2 separate regions of the Homo sapiens genome follow, and region 2 is linked to region 1. The links are contacts of gene promoters, found by promoter capture Hi-C in blood cells and fetal thymus (Javierre and others, 2016). All regions are on one chromosome and are shown on one strand. Each heading gives the region's core, a stretch centred on a gene start or on the middle of the fragment in contact. The rest is flanking DNA. Distances are from core to core; before and after follow the strand shown.

Evidence for each region. The method cuts DNA at HindIII sites, captures the fragments that hold promoters and counts their contacts. A CHiCAGO score of 5 or more calls a contact.
Region 2: a contact is called between a fragment that was not itself captured here and the fragment with the promoter of PRR16 in region 1, in 4 of 17 cell types (M2 macrophages, neutrophils, M1 macrophages and 1 more). The highest score is 12.0, in M2 macrophages.

Annotation. Positions count from the first base shown.
Region 1 is chr5:120,460,144-120,467,000 of GRCh38, forward strand. PRR16 (proline rich 16) reads left to right here and starts at 4,157. Exons shown (of 2, transcript NM_001300783.2): 1 at 4,157-4,502. The coding sequence starts at 4,344. RefSeq lists a silencer at 4,076-4,125 and an enhancer at 4,531-5,032. The HindIII fragment of the contact is 2,017 bases long and covers 2,977-4,993 here.
Region 2 is chr5:119,938,412-119,945,268 of GRCh38, forward strand. The region is part of intron 1 of LOC105379144 (a long non-coding RNA gene); the gene reads left to right. Among named protein-coding and RNA genes, the nearest start is that of FAM170A, 310 kb to the left of the region's middle. The HindIII fragment of the contact is 6,242 bases long and covers 1,281-6,857 here.

The sequences.
Region 1 (6,857 bases), core at 2,907-5,406:
ACTGTTTACTCATTCATTCATTTTGTTAAGTATTTATTGATCAGCCTTTTTGCAATAGACACAGTTCTAATTACTCAGGATATTGTGTTGAGTACTTGCATTTAAACTCCCAGATCTCATTTTTTAAAACCTATATACATCAACAGTACATAGCCATCATGCCAGAAGCAGTTGATACATTAAAAGGAGACATTCTCCAGAACAATAGAGACAATTTAATAAAATGTATGAGTGAACAAGGAGTTCTAGCTCTCAATTTATTGTTCCCTAGATGTGATATATTGGATATGCCATTTAGCCTACTAAGGCCTTAACATTTAAGTAGATGCTCTTTAGAGTTATACTTATTTAAGATTTATCTAGATGCTCTTTAAAGCTTATAACAAACAGAAATTTAACTAAATTATTTTTAAGGCTTATTCCAGGTAAAAAGAAACTTAAAGTTTTTATTTTAATCTCTCAAATTGGTGGTTTTCAAAGTGTGGTCCCCTACCAGCATCCTAGAAATTTGTTAAAATACACATTTTAGACCTCATCCTAGACATACTGAACTACAAACCTTGGGGCAGGGAGTATAGCAATCTTTTTTTTAAAGAAGTTCTGATGGGTACTAGGCTTTCTCAACCACTGCCTGGACATATAAAATATGTTTAATAGTAAATATATGTATGGAAAACGTTTCTAATTTTTCATAACTATATCATTGATATGGTTAGGCTTAGTGTCTCCACCCAAATCTCGTCTTGATTTGTAATCCCCATAATTCCCACGCGTCAAAGAAGAGACCAGGTGGAGGTAATTGAATCATGGGGGCAGTTTCCCCCATGCTGTTCTCATGACAGTGAGTGAGTCCTCATGAGATCTAATGGTTTTATAAGGGGCTTTTCCCCCTTCACTCCGCACTTCTCCTTCCTGCTACCTTGTGAAGAAGGTGCCTTGCTTCCCCTTCACCTTCCCCCATGATTGTAAGATTCCTAAGGCCTCCCCAGCTATGCTGAACTGTGAGACAAAATATTTTGGGAATATTCTTATGCTTTTTGTGAATTTAAAATTATGTCAGTGTCACAGAGTTTTTTCCTGTGGGTTAATTACTAGGGATCAACTGCAGTGGATTACACATACACACACACACACACACACACACACACACGCATACACATGAGAATACTGATAAAGGCTTGTAACTAAAGAAACAAAACCTAGATGATCTCCTGTAATTATCCAATTCTTCCTGTTACAAAACTCAGAAAATGATGAATAGAGAGACAGGGAGAATAAAATCCTGGGTTTGCAATCACTTCTATAAATGAGTAAGACTCTCCTTTATTTAGAAATGTATTATCCTGTCTAAGTTTATAAGTAATGTGGTTTGGTTGTGTACATTTGCAGCTAGCACTAGTACATTAACGAACTTACAGAAAGATTTACCAGAAATTTTATTAGGTGTCACTTTTGCTGTTTGGTCTCTATAACTGGAGTCTAAAACATCCTATATACTGATCTCTGAGAGAGTCTAGGATTACCCAAAGGAATGAAAGATTTTTCCATAGGGTAATACAAAAATAGGAAGTAAATACACTTGATTTATATTCATGGGCCCTTTTTATTCTGTCTTCTTCTCCTCAATATTTATAATTCCCTTTATAAAAGTTTCTTCTTTAGACATATTTTATGGAGATTTGCTTTAAGTGATCCTTAATGACTAGAAGATAGGGACAGACACCACTGCTGCAATCCTACCAGCTTTCTCAGTTTGGGCCTGGAAGCCAATTTTAACTTTTCCCTATTCAGTTAACTCTATATTGTATAAAGACATAGATAGATAGATGATAGTGATTATTTCAGAGTGAACTGTGATATGGGTGTGGGTGGTGTGTTTCTAAGCAATAATTATGATTTGATTTTAAGTCAGAATTATTTGTTTCAGTAGCAGCAGTGGATATCAGAGTATCAGAAGAGAACAGTTTTTTTTGTTTTGTTTTTGTGACGGAATCTCGCTCTGTCACCCAGACTGGAGTGCACTGGCACGATCTCAGCTCACTGCAAGCTCCACCTCCCGGGTTCAAGCAATTCTCTGCCTCAGCCTCCTGAGTAGCTGGGATTACAGGCTCCTGCCACCATGCCCAGCTAATTTTTGTATTTTTAATAGAGATGGGGTTTTGCCATCTTGGCCAGGGTGGTCTTGAACTCCTGACCTTGTGATCCACCCATCTCGGCCTCCCAGAGTGCTGGGATTACAGGCATGAGCCACTGTGCCTAGCCTGTTTTGTTTTTTTTTTTTTAATCTTTAGTGAATGAGATTCAGAGTAGCATGGACATCTTCTTATATTGTGGGAGGATTATTTTGTCACTGTGAGGGAAATCACAATTTCCTTTCCTCCTCTCCCATATCCTTGTCTAAAGTCACTTAACTTTGAGTTTGGCGGCTTTCTTACACACTTGCCTACTATTAAGAGTCAAAAATAATTCCAATCTAGAAGAATAGTACTTTCTCTTTTCCCCTACCATTAGCTTTTGCTAGTTTTGACAATTTTGGGGAGTCTGTAAACCTGATATAATTATTTTAATGTTATATTTTTTATAAAATAAAGAATTTGAGGAGAAAAAGGATGTTTTAAAAATCTAATTCTCCCTACCTCAGAGAACTCAAGCATATTACTTATTTCACACTTTTAATCATTTCTTCTCTTTTTCTTTTCTCCAGTTTGCATGCTGCAGACTTGTTCTTATAATCTCTTCTTAAGTCTTTCCAGCAGCATCTGCTTTTCACCTTTTCTCATTTCTTCCCCTGATTTTTCAATGCAGTTTTCAATGGTTTTCTTTTGACACCACTTTCAAATTTCAATTTTTTCTTCTGTTCTCTTTCTTCCTCTATATTCCACATATGACTTCCAAAGGTTTTGTAAAGATGAATTGTCCAGGATTAAGAGAGTGATTGATTAAGAGCCTACAGAACTGGGAAGAGGAGAGCTGCCAAGCTTTTCTTTATGTGTAGCACAGTGGAGCTACCCAGAGTGTGAGAAGCAAGAAACAGAGAGCCTTGCTAAGGCACGACGAAAAGGGGAAGCCTATTAAAAGAATGATCTGGAGGAGTGTGCAGTGAAGAAAATAAAGTAGAGCCAGCCTGCTGGGTCAGTAGCTAATAGCCCATGGGTTTACAACTAAGGAAGTTAAAATTCTAGCTAATGAGAATTGTAGACACCTACTGAGAGTGAACCGAAGGCTTCCTATTAACTTCCCTTCTTGGGTCTTTTTGACAGAACAGTCAGAAAGTTGTTTCCTATTTGTTTAGTAGCAAAAGAGTTGAAATGGAGGTTTAAAAAATGATGAAAGAGAAGTTGGAGGCAATCTCTTACTCAGCTCCTTCACGAGGTCCAAATACGATGTCTCCCCCACTCCACTCAAAATGTAAATCAGCATAGGTCACAAAAAGAGGAAGGACAGTTAAAAAAAAAAAAAAGAGTTGGGCCAAATAAGACATACAGCCAAGATGACTGAGACAATCAGAGAGGATTTGGGGTGTGGGGACTTCAAATTAATAAATCCGGTATTAGCTTTGTGGAATTAGCAGGATTAGGGTACCTCTTTCAAGAACACTGGTTGAATTTCATGGTTTCAATAGATGACCATTAGCTGTTATGTGCACCCCCCCCCCCCTTTTTTCTTGCAGAAGTTAAGAAGTCTGCTTAACTCGCAGGTCACCAAGAGATTGATTAAAGGCCTCTGGACATCATTTGGGTTTGGATAAATCTGTAGGGCCACTTTACAGACTGTCTCCAACTCCTGATCCCACTGTGGTTCTTTCTGAATTGATCCAGGTCCCTGCTAGCAAGTGAAGCAGAAAGAATCCAGGCTAGTTGTGAGATGACATACAGCAAGCAGGCTGAGATGATGGGGACATTTCAGAACCAAGAGGAGGGGGCGGGCAGGACACGGACTTGTCTCCCCCACCTTGATGCCAAGGTGGCATCTGGGAGATATCTCGAAGGGCAACGTCGAGGGGACTGCAAGCGTCAACCCTGGCGCGGCAGCACGGCGCCCCTCTCCGCGGGCGGGGAGCGAGCGCGTGTGCGCGAGAGCGCCGGGCGGCGGCGGGAGGAGGCGCAGGCGCGCTGCTCGCCCGTCTGCAGCCCCGAGCCGAGCGCCGCGTCTCGGGAGTTGATGGCAGCACCACTGTGCGGCCGCCCGGCCGAGCGCGGAGCGCAGCCACTCGCCGCTGCCCAGGGAGCGCCCAAGATGTGGGGGGACCGGGGCGGCAGCGGCCGTAGCAGCGCCAGGGACGGGGGCACGCAGCAGCCTCCGCTCGCCCGCCTGTCCTGACCTGCCTCGCTTGCCCCCAAAGAATGTCAGCCAAGTCCAAGGGGAACCCCTCCTCGTCCTGTCCAGCCGAGGGACCGCCGGCAGCCTCCAAAACCAAGGTGAAGGAACAGATCAAGATCATCGTGGAGGATTTGGAATTAGTCCTGGGCGACCTGAAGGACGTGGCCAAGGAACTTAAGGAGGTGAGAGGCGCAGGGGTGGGGAGGGAGTTCGGCACCCTTCGACCCCTCCGGGGTCCCCTTTCCGATTTTCAGCAGGGACAGCCAGATTTCCAAACTCCTGGGAAACTACAGAAAAGGCGCCTGCAGACGGACTTTCTTTGCTCCTGGAGTCCTGAGAGGAGTTGTTGTTGCACTTTTTAATTTTTTTTTTTAATCAGGAAGAAATCAACTAGTGTTTTAATCGATGGACCTGGGCTGGTGGGAGGGATGAACGCACGCGTGTCTCTGAATCTGTGTGTGTGACGACGGGGGAGAGGGTTAGCTGGGGGTGTGTCGGCAGAGGAAGTCGTGAGCAGCCCGGCTGGAGCGTGCAAGATGCTCCTCTCCTGCCCTATTGCTTCCCCAGAGTCCTTTGGCAAGTCCGCTGCCTATCTGTCAGCCTCCCCAAGTCAGGGCTGAAGAGGGGCCGGGTTCTGGGCCCTGGGCCAGATCAGGGAGGGCAGCCTGGAGGAAGCTTGGCTCAGACTACCCTCCCTGTCTCTCGAGCCTCGCTGTAGGGAAGGCGACCCGGGCTGCTGGCAGCCTTGGGGCTAAGGAGGGGGTCTGGGACTTTCTCACTTTCTCAGTTTCTGAAGCATCCCCTGCTCTCCTCCGAACGTCGTTACCAGTAACTCTGGGCCTTCCCGCCACCCTACCTCTGCTTCCTTCCTTCCACCCTGTCGCCACTTGGCATTGAACCCGAGAAGCAGGACGCGCAGGAGAGTGTATGTGTGGCCGGGGTCTTGCCATTGGCGTCCTGGCTCTCTGCAGCTGGGACTGCTTCGGTTCTTCCCCGCTTTTCCTATCCCACTTCGGTTCAGCCCTACTCCCGCCCGCCCCTAGCCCCAGGTGATCCAGATGGAAAGAAGCAGAGAAGGTGTCAGGGCTGAGGCTGCGTAACTCAGGCGGCGGCTCCGGGCGGGGGCGGGGGCCGGGCTGGGAGGGGTGGGGTCTCCCGAGCCAGGCTGGCTGCCGGCGGCGTCGCGGAGCTGGTAGCAGAGTCCCAGCGCGCCGCTCACTACTGAATGGGGTCCTGGTGCGGTTCTCGGTGAGGGAGTCCGCAGCTCCGCTGCGTGAGAGCTAAGACTAGAACTTCGAAGGTGGCGGTGGCTGCAGCGGGAAAAGGGGTGGGGCGTAGTCTAGGTCCAAAATTGTAATCCTGTTTCTGAAGCCAACGGGGAGGAGACTGAGGGTTGTTTGGATGACTGGCCTCTAGAGATTAACCTCCTGTATTCAATTTCCAAACCAAATTTCAAGAGCCCCCTCGTCTTCCTCCCCTTCCCCCGTTACCTCTATGAACTGAACTCTGCATTTGTTACCTAATGCAAGTCTGTTAAAATGGGCCATTCGTCACCAGGGTTAAGTTTGCCAGTGGTAAATGTCGTTCCTGTAGGTTACTCCACAGACAGAACATAATTAGTACTGAGGTCCTGAGAGTGGCTGTTAGTATACATAGATTCAGGGATAAAACTTGTTCGTGTTTTCAGGGTTTCTGTAGGATTATTGCTTCACAACTGGTTGACAGATGGTGGGGTTATGCATTGAAATTCAATTCTAAAAATGCTGTCCCTTTCTTTGTTATTCTTTTATATGACATCTTTGGTAGACTGTGTTTTCATCTGAAACATGGCGTTTTAAAAAATGAAATTGGGCATGTTCCTTTCGGCAGAATTGTGCTTAATAGTTGGTGAGGTTTCTATGGGCGATGTGGAAAACCTACAGCGGCACAGAAACGTATTTACTGTTTTCATGAGGCTGAGACTAAAAGAAAGGTAGTTAAACAGAATTCTGCATCTGTGAGCCATACTTCCTTATGTTTTAATGTCAGTCCACTCACTTTTTTTGCACAGAATAAATGACAAGAAACTGCACATGGTCCTGGTTTTGCTTTGCATCATTATTTATGGACATTTAGAGATTAAGTAGTGAAATCTTCAACCTCCCTGTGGTTATTGGTTAGAATCACAAAAATGTAAGTCAGGAAATCTGTTGATACCACTTTCTGTGTCTTCATTACTGAAGATTTTTTAAGGTTAAAAAAAAGGTTGTTTATAAGAGGAATAAAAAGCAGAGATAATGTACAACCCAGTAGATGAAACTATCTGACAGATCTAGAGATACAATTTTGACTCAACATTTTGGAAGATTTGTTTGTCTTAAGGATCTGTTTGAGTAAAAATCTCACCATGAAACTGAAATTTATGACATAAATAATGTGATGTGATTGTTAATTACTTTTGTGTGGGTATCATCATCCTAGATTTGCACAAGAAAATGTACCTACAATGGCCAAATCCCAAAACATCGGCTATTCATAGAATATGAATGAAAATATTT
Region 2 (6,857 bases), core at 3,152-5,651, 520 kb before region 1:
CTTGCATTTAACCACTAAAGCTCTTCCAAACTCTCTCTCCTTTAAGTTTTCTCTTGTCTTATTCTCTGTTATTTTTGAGCCAGTTTTGCCTCCTTATATTTCATATTTATTCCCGCAACTCAGAGAGATCCAGTGGTCTCTGTGAATCTCTTCTTGGGTTTTCTGGCCCTGCACTGTGGTCTGTAAATTATCTGTAGGTAGTGAACTGGACAATTATAATTTTCTCATAAATTGTCTCACATCTCTTGAGATCACTGACCTTTTACCCTTGTTGCTGTAGTCTGGAAAACCATTGCTTCAATTACTCTGTCTGGTATTTAATTGTTTTCTGGCAACAGAGTAACTCTGGTTCTTGTTACTCCATCTTGACTAGAAGTAGAAGTCGTGGAGTTTGTACGTGGAGTCTCTTATTGGGTCTTGATAAGGAACCAATTCTTATCCATTACAGATATTTCTAGCATCATTGAAACCTCATTGGCCCAAGATATAGGGAAGCTTCCACCATAGCTAGTCTTGTTGCAAAGTCTTTTCTTACTCTCTGCTCTACTCAAAAGAGATAAACTTGTGGGTCATGCAATAAGTGGATCAAAGCAATATTCCCATGTGCAGTGTATTCTACCTCAAAAATGGACTCAAGTCCACCAAATGCTTTGCCACTTTTGCAATGGTAGGAGGCATGGCTTGAATAATTTTCTGCTTTTCTTTATGAGGGGTATTTTGGCATTCTCCAGTCAAGTGGATCAATACACAATTCACTGATAAGTCAGGCTCATGAATCTTCATAGTGTTTAATCTCAGACCCTCTAGCTTGTAAGCACTAGGGCATATAAATTACTTGACATTTGTTGCTCACTACATCCAATTAGCTTGATATCATTAACATAATGGATCAACCTGATGTTTTGAGGAATATCAAGTCAGTCAAGATCCCTATAGACTATGTTATGATAGAAAACATGAGAGTTAATATAGGTTTGTGGCAAAACAGTGAATGTGTACTGCTTTTGCCTTGAAAAAACAAACTGGTATTGATTATCTCTACCAATGGGTAGGAAAGTAAGCATTAGCTCAATTAATAGCTGTATGCTGATCACCAGGTGCTGCATTAAACGTTTTCGTAAAAATTCCACATCCTGCATTGTAGCTTTGCTTGGTTGACTGAGGCTACTAGTTGATTATATTTATGCTAGTTCATTATCTACTCAAAGTACTTTTTTTCAGGGACAAAATACAATAACTATAAGATGATTTGATTGAGACTATCACTCCTACATCCTCTAAGCTTTAATAGTAGCTCTAATCTTTGAAAGTATGCTCAAGATGCAGTTTTGTTTTTGATTTATTCTTTTGGCTCCAGTACAGAAAGTGGTTTTGGGGCCAGATACATAGAGTATTCATTCCAATTAGATATGTGGGGACTAGTATATGATTACAAAGTGAGTCCTTAGACCTGTTGGGCCTATTGTGAGACAAAATTGAACAAAAACTCCATTTATTACCCATCCTCTATAAACCTAATACATGATGTGAAGAAGCATGATGACATTTTGAGTGCTTTGGTACCAGTGCTAGCTCAGTCCTGTGGCATGTAGTTCTGTGTCTACAAGTCTGTCTCTACAGACTCACCATACAGAGGTTACCTGGGAAATTTCAAGAACATAAGCCCGAGATTGAAGTTATTTGAAAAACCTGGAGAATGTCTTACTTTTTCCGGTGTTGGAAAATCTCCCTTTGTCTTCTGGTGCTTCTCTTAGAAGCAAAGCTATTGACTGATAGTATTGCCTGACAGTAGCTCTTTAAGATAGTATTGAGTGAGAGCTATTGCCTGACAGTAGCTCTTTCAGACTGTTTGTCACATAGCCATGTTATTCTCTAATTGTGTAGGCTAGAATTTTTTCTGTCTTGGTGGCACCTTATAGCTACTGTTGGATTACTAAGAATAACATTTTATTTTGACTATTTCTGCATGTCCTGAACTTAGAACTGAGTGCCTTTCTTCTTGCCATGACTTCTTGGTTTGAGCCCACTCATTTTCTTATTCTTTTATTTGCCATTCCAGCAACCTCTTCACTGGTAGCATCAATCAAAGATGGAAACTAATAAAAACTATAGTCCTGAAATGTGCCTTTCACTTTCTCTCCCTACTTCAACTTCTACCATTAGCCTCTTTCTTTTGGGTGTATCTGGAGACTAAGCCACTTTTATAGGCATTCAACACAGCATTGGTTTGGGGTCTTTTAAAGATTTCATTATGCATAAAATTCACATATTGATATAATGTTAACTCAAAAGATTATAATATATTGTGAGTCCGAAAGAAGAATCATTTACGTAAGATGCAGTTTGATATTGTCTTTGACATTCTCCATTTTCAGGAAAGTTATTTTGCCTCCTAGACCTCTTTTTAAAAATCATCTTACTTAATTGATTATTTTCAGAATAAAATTAATATATTTTGAAAAATTAATTTTATTTTAAACAGAACCATGTATTGTGATACTGAGGATGTTTTGATTAGGGTTACTAAGTCTCAAAATAATACAAAACAAAGATAAATACTCAGATTCCGTTAACATTCATATAATGTCTTTCATTAACTTAGCTCATTATTATTATTTCTAATGATTATTTTTACTTAGTGAACTTGAACAGGGTTTTTTTGTCTGTTAAATAAAAGTGATACCTGTCTCCCAGGTGTACTGGGGAATTTAAATGTAAAATCGCTGAGCGCATTAAACAGCATGCCATAAGATTTCAGTATATGTTATCTTCCTGTTTCTCTCCCTCTTCCCCCTTAATATCCAAAATGAGATCATCAATCCTGAGAGCTATTGTCTTAACTACTCAGCTTATGTTACCAGATAGTTGCATAAGGAATTTGATGATGGACTGAAAGGCATGATTGTGAAGCCATTAAAATAAATCCCCAAATGTGCAAAATAGAAAGCAGAAGAGAGAGAAGGGAGAACTAAATTATTTCATCAATGGATCATGTTATCTGTGTGATTGGGAGTCAAGTTTATTTCTTTATAATATTATAGACAGTTCATTAAGCCTCTTTCTTTCTGTTCTGCTAGACTATTCACTATTAGGCTCATAAAGTCACTACCAGAGCTTTCTAATTTTTTTCCAAAAGTGTTTTTGCAGCCAGCCTTTTTATTCTATCTACATTAATAACAAATTTAGTTTCCCTGAAGCAGTTCTTCCATATACAATTCTCGCCCACCCAAACATTTATTGGTCCTCCATTCCCAACAGAATAAAATCTAAATAAGTTAGCCTCAAGACCCTCCTAGAACATCCTAGTGATGTCTACCTTGTATTTGCTTCTCTAGATCCATTCTCCACTCTTTTTCAGTTACTCTTTGGCTCTGGGTGACTGATCTGCATAAACTCCATCAATGAGACCTCCAGTGGGAAATAGAAACAAAGGAAGAGGGTCAGGTCAGGGAATTTATTTACCCAGCTTCCTCTTTTCTACAAAAAGTCATGCATCTTGTCAGGCACCCCACTCCCCAAGGCTCTCTCCTTCTGGGGTCTGGAAATTCCCACACCTCACTCCATCCTTCAGGATGAGGGGTGGAAGTGGTTTTTCCTAGCACTGGAATACTGCCATATTCTTGTGGCTTTCCTACACTCTGCACATACCTTTGTAAATGTTCCCTGTATCAAAACTCAACTCGAATAACCCAATTTCAATGTACCATCTGTTGCCTGGCTGTTATACCTCCCAAATTTATCTCATGCCATACACTCTTTTCTTTAAAGGCAGATGGTTTATTTATTGCAGGCATAGTGGTTCAGAGCACCCAATTTGGAATGATAAAGTATTGGGTTTGAATTCTGATTTTGCTACTTATCAGTTCAAAGGCTTTGGTCAAGTTATTCAGCTTCTCTGAGTCACAGTCTCTTCATCTATAAGACAGGAATAATAATAGTAGTCACCTTAAAGAGTTATTGTGAAAAATAAAAAAGTTTATAGATCTTTAATAAAACAGATGCTGAAGAAATATGGTTTTGGCCATGAATGTTTCTTGAGCATGTATACCTCATGATTTTTGCTGCCACATCTCTTTTGCTATTTTCCCCTCCACTTAAGTTTATCAGTTTTAGGTCTAATTAAGAACCTAGTTATTCTATAATCTCTTGTGTTTCTCAATTTTTATGACTCTTGCTCCCTGGAACTCTCCTTTGTGTTTTGATTTGTATAGGTCTCCTCTCCCTAATTACATTGTTAACAATCTGATGACAAAACTTTTCATTTCCTTGTATCACCTCTAACTAGCTCAGTGTTGGGAACATAGCAGCAGCTTAACAAATATTTGCTTGGTTATTTAATTTTAATCATTTAATTTCAATTAAGGCAGGTCAATTTTATAATGCAATTAATTTCAATTAAGGTAGATAGGCAAACTGCATAATGCAAATCTCCAGAATCGATTTTTTGATTATCACAGTGCCCATTTCAGGGTAGGTACTTATTTAATATTTGATGATTTTTGGTAATTATTATACAGATAAATTATCTGTAATATCATCTAAGTGCCTCACTGATTACTGTGTAGACATAACCTATACCTGTAATGAGATCCTTTTTATTAGCTATCAAAGGTTAATGATCTAAGCAGGTTAAAAAACACAAAAAGGAAATAGTATTAATGTCAATATATTTGTTATTAATTCTTTTGTCATCTTTTAAATATACCAGATTGTAGTCTCATTAGAATACTAGAACTTTGTTATATTTTATATTGTACTCACTGTGGAGTACTTATGGGTCACTCAAATAACATTAAACTACCGAAGGGCTCAAACACAAGAATCAACTTTAGTTTCTTGTGAGCAGTGTAACTTACCACCTCTCTTTAAATATTGCATTTAATCTTGTCTTAATAAAAAAATTAAATAAAGTTATAGCCTGTAGGTGGCATTTGAGTCCACTAATCACTGTCCTGTGCTTATCTTGAATCTTTATATTGGTGATTCCAGTACAGCAGCATGTCTGTAACTAGTGTTGGCTTCTCAGTATGATGATGAAGTTTAGTGATATCTTAGACCATAAGCTACTATAAAAAATCCTCATTGAATCTTGCCAGATTCCTGTTGGAATGCGGCAACTCCCCAAACTTCTGTCCTGTTAGTAGAAATGAAGTATAGTACAAAAAAGCAATGAGGCCTGCCTGACTGATGTACATGTCCCTGACAGTGATCTTGGTGGTGTTTCATGGGAATTAAATGTAAGTTGATTGTGAACAGTGAGTTAGCTGATGATTAGAAAGAGTTGGGGTTGGTTTCTTTAGAGGCTAAGAGCACAATAAGATGAGTCTTGTTTGGTTTTTGATGTAACACATTAAGAGATTTAGGACTTTTAGAATTAGGATATTAATTGTCCTAATCACCCAAGGTAATATTTTTAAGCAATTGTCCTAATCACCCAAGGCAATTGCTTAAAAATATTACCTTCTCCTAATTGTCCTTATCACCCAAGGTAATATTTTTAAGCAAAAGTAAATGAAAAAGTAAAAATTAAAAGATGTATTTATGTGCTGAATGACTTTATGAAGATAGTTTATTTTGTTCTTTTTATTGACATGACTTATTTTCTTCTCATACATAGCCTTTATATGAAAGAGGATGAGAGATGCCCATTTTGGAGTATTTATAGGCCTCCAAAATAAAGTTAAAGTATAGGGGCCCAAGTACAAAAACCAGCTTTAGTATCTGGTAAGCAGTATAACTTACCACCCTTATTTAAATGTTGCCTTTAATTGTTTTGAATCTTGAACCTAAAAATCCTCAGTCAGTCTTTTACCTACTTTTTAGATTCATACAAGATGTAAAAAAGAGTCTTTGGGCAAACTCACTGTTCATTTACTTTCTGTCGTATTCACATGTACACCACTAAAATCCCTTCTTGGAAGTTGGGGAGAAGTGGGTTCATGTATAATACCCTTCCCTCTTCACCTCTCTACCTGTCAGTGTAGAAATATTGCAGGTACTCACAAGTATGGATATTGTCTGCTTTTGTCTAATCCACTGGTACTTGTGCTGTTTTGAATATAATCTTTGGGTTGTATTGAATGCAGAAAATGATTGCTTTTTAAAGATCCTTCATAATTGGAACCTTAGATATTTAGATCAAAATCAGTATAATATTAATCTATCCAGTTTACTCTCAAACTGTCAAACACTTAGTTTGTCTTTGTTTTTTTGGTACCAACAATATGAATTACATTACTATTAGTTGATAAGGTTTTTCAGGTAAACAATTTGAATAAATATATGAGTTTTCAATTTCTGATGATATAGTGGTCCAAAGACCCTTAACAAACCTTTCACTTCAAAATAATTAGAACATTGAAAAAACATTAGCAAATATATTAAATTTTTTTTTTTACTTTGAAGTTCAGGGGTACATGTGCAGGTTTGTTACATAGGTAAACTTGAGTCATGGGAGTTTGTTGTATAGATTATTTCATCACCAAGCTATTAATCCTGGTACTCATTAGTTATTTTTCATTATCCTCTCCCTCTTCCCACCTTCCACTCTCTGAAAGGCCCCAGTGTGTGTTGTTCCCCTGTATGTGTCCATGTGTTCTCATTATTTAGCTCTCACTTATAAGTGAGAACATGTGGTACTTGGTTTTCTGTTTCTTTGTTAGTTTGCGAAGGATAATGGCCTCCAGCTCCATCCATGTCCCTGCAAAGGACATGATTTCATTCTTTTTTATGGCTGCATAGTATTCCATGGTGTATTGAGCTGACAAGAAAATAAGGAAAATATTCAGAGACTAAAAACAGAATGTAAGCAGAAGTTCAGAAAGTTCAGCAAGCACAGAATAGCTGGCCATACTGGG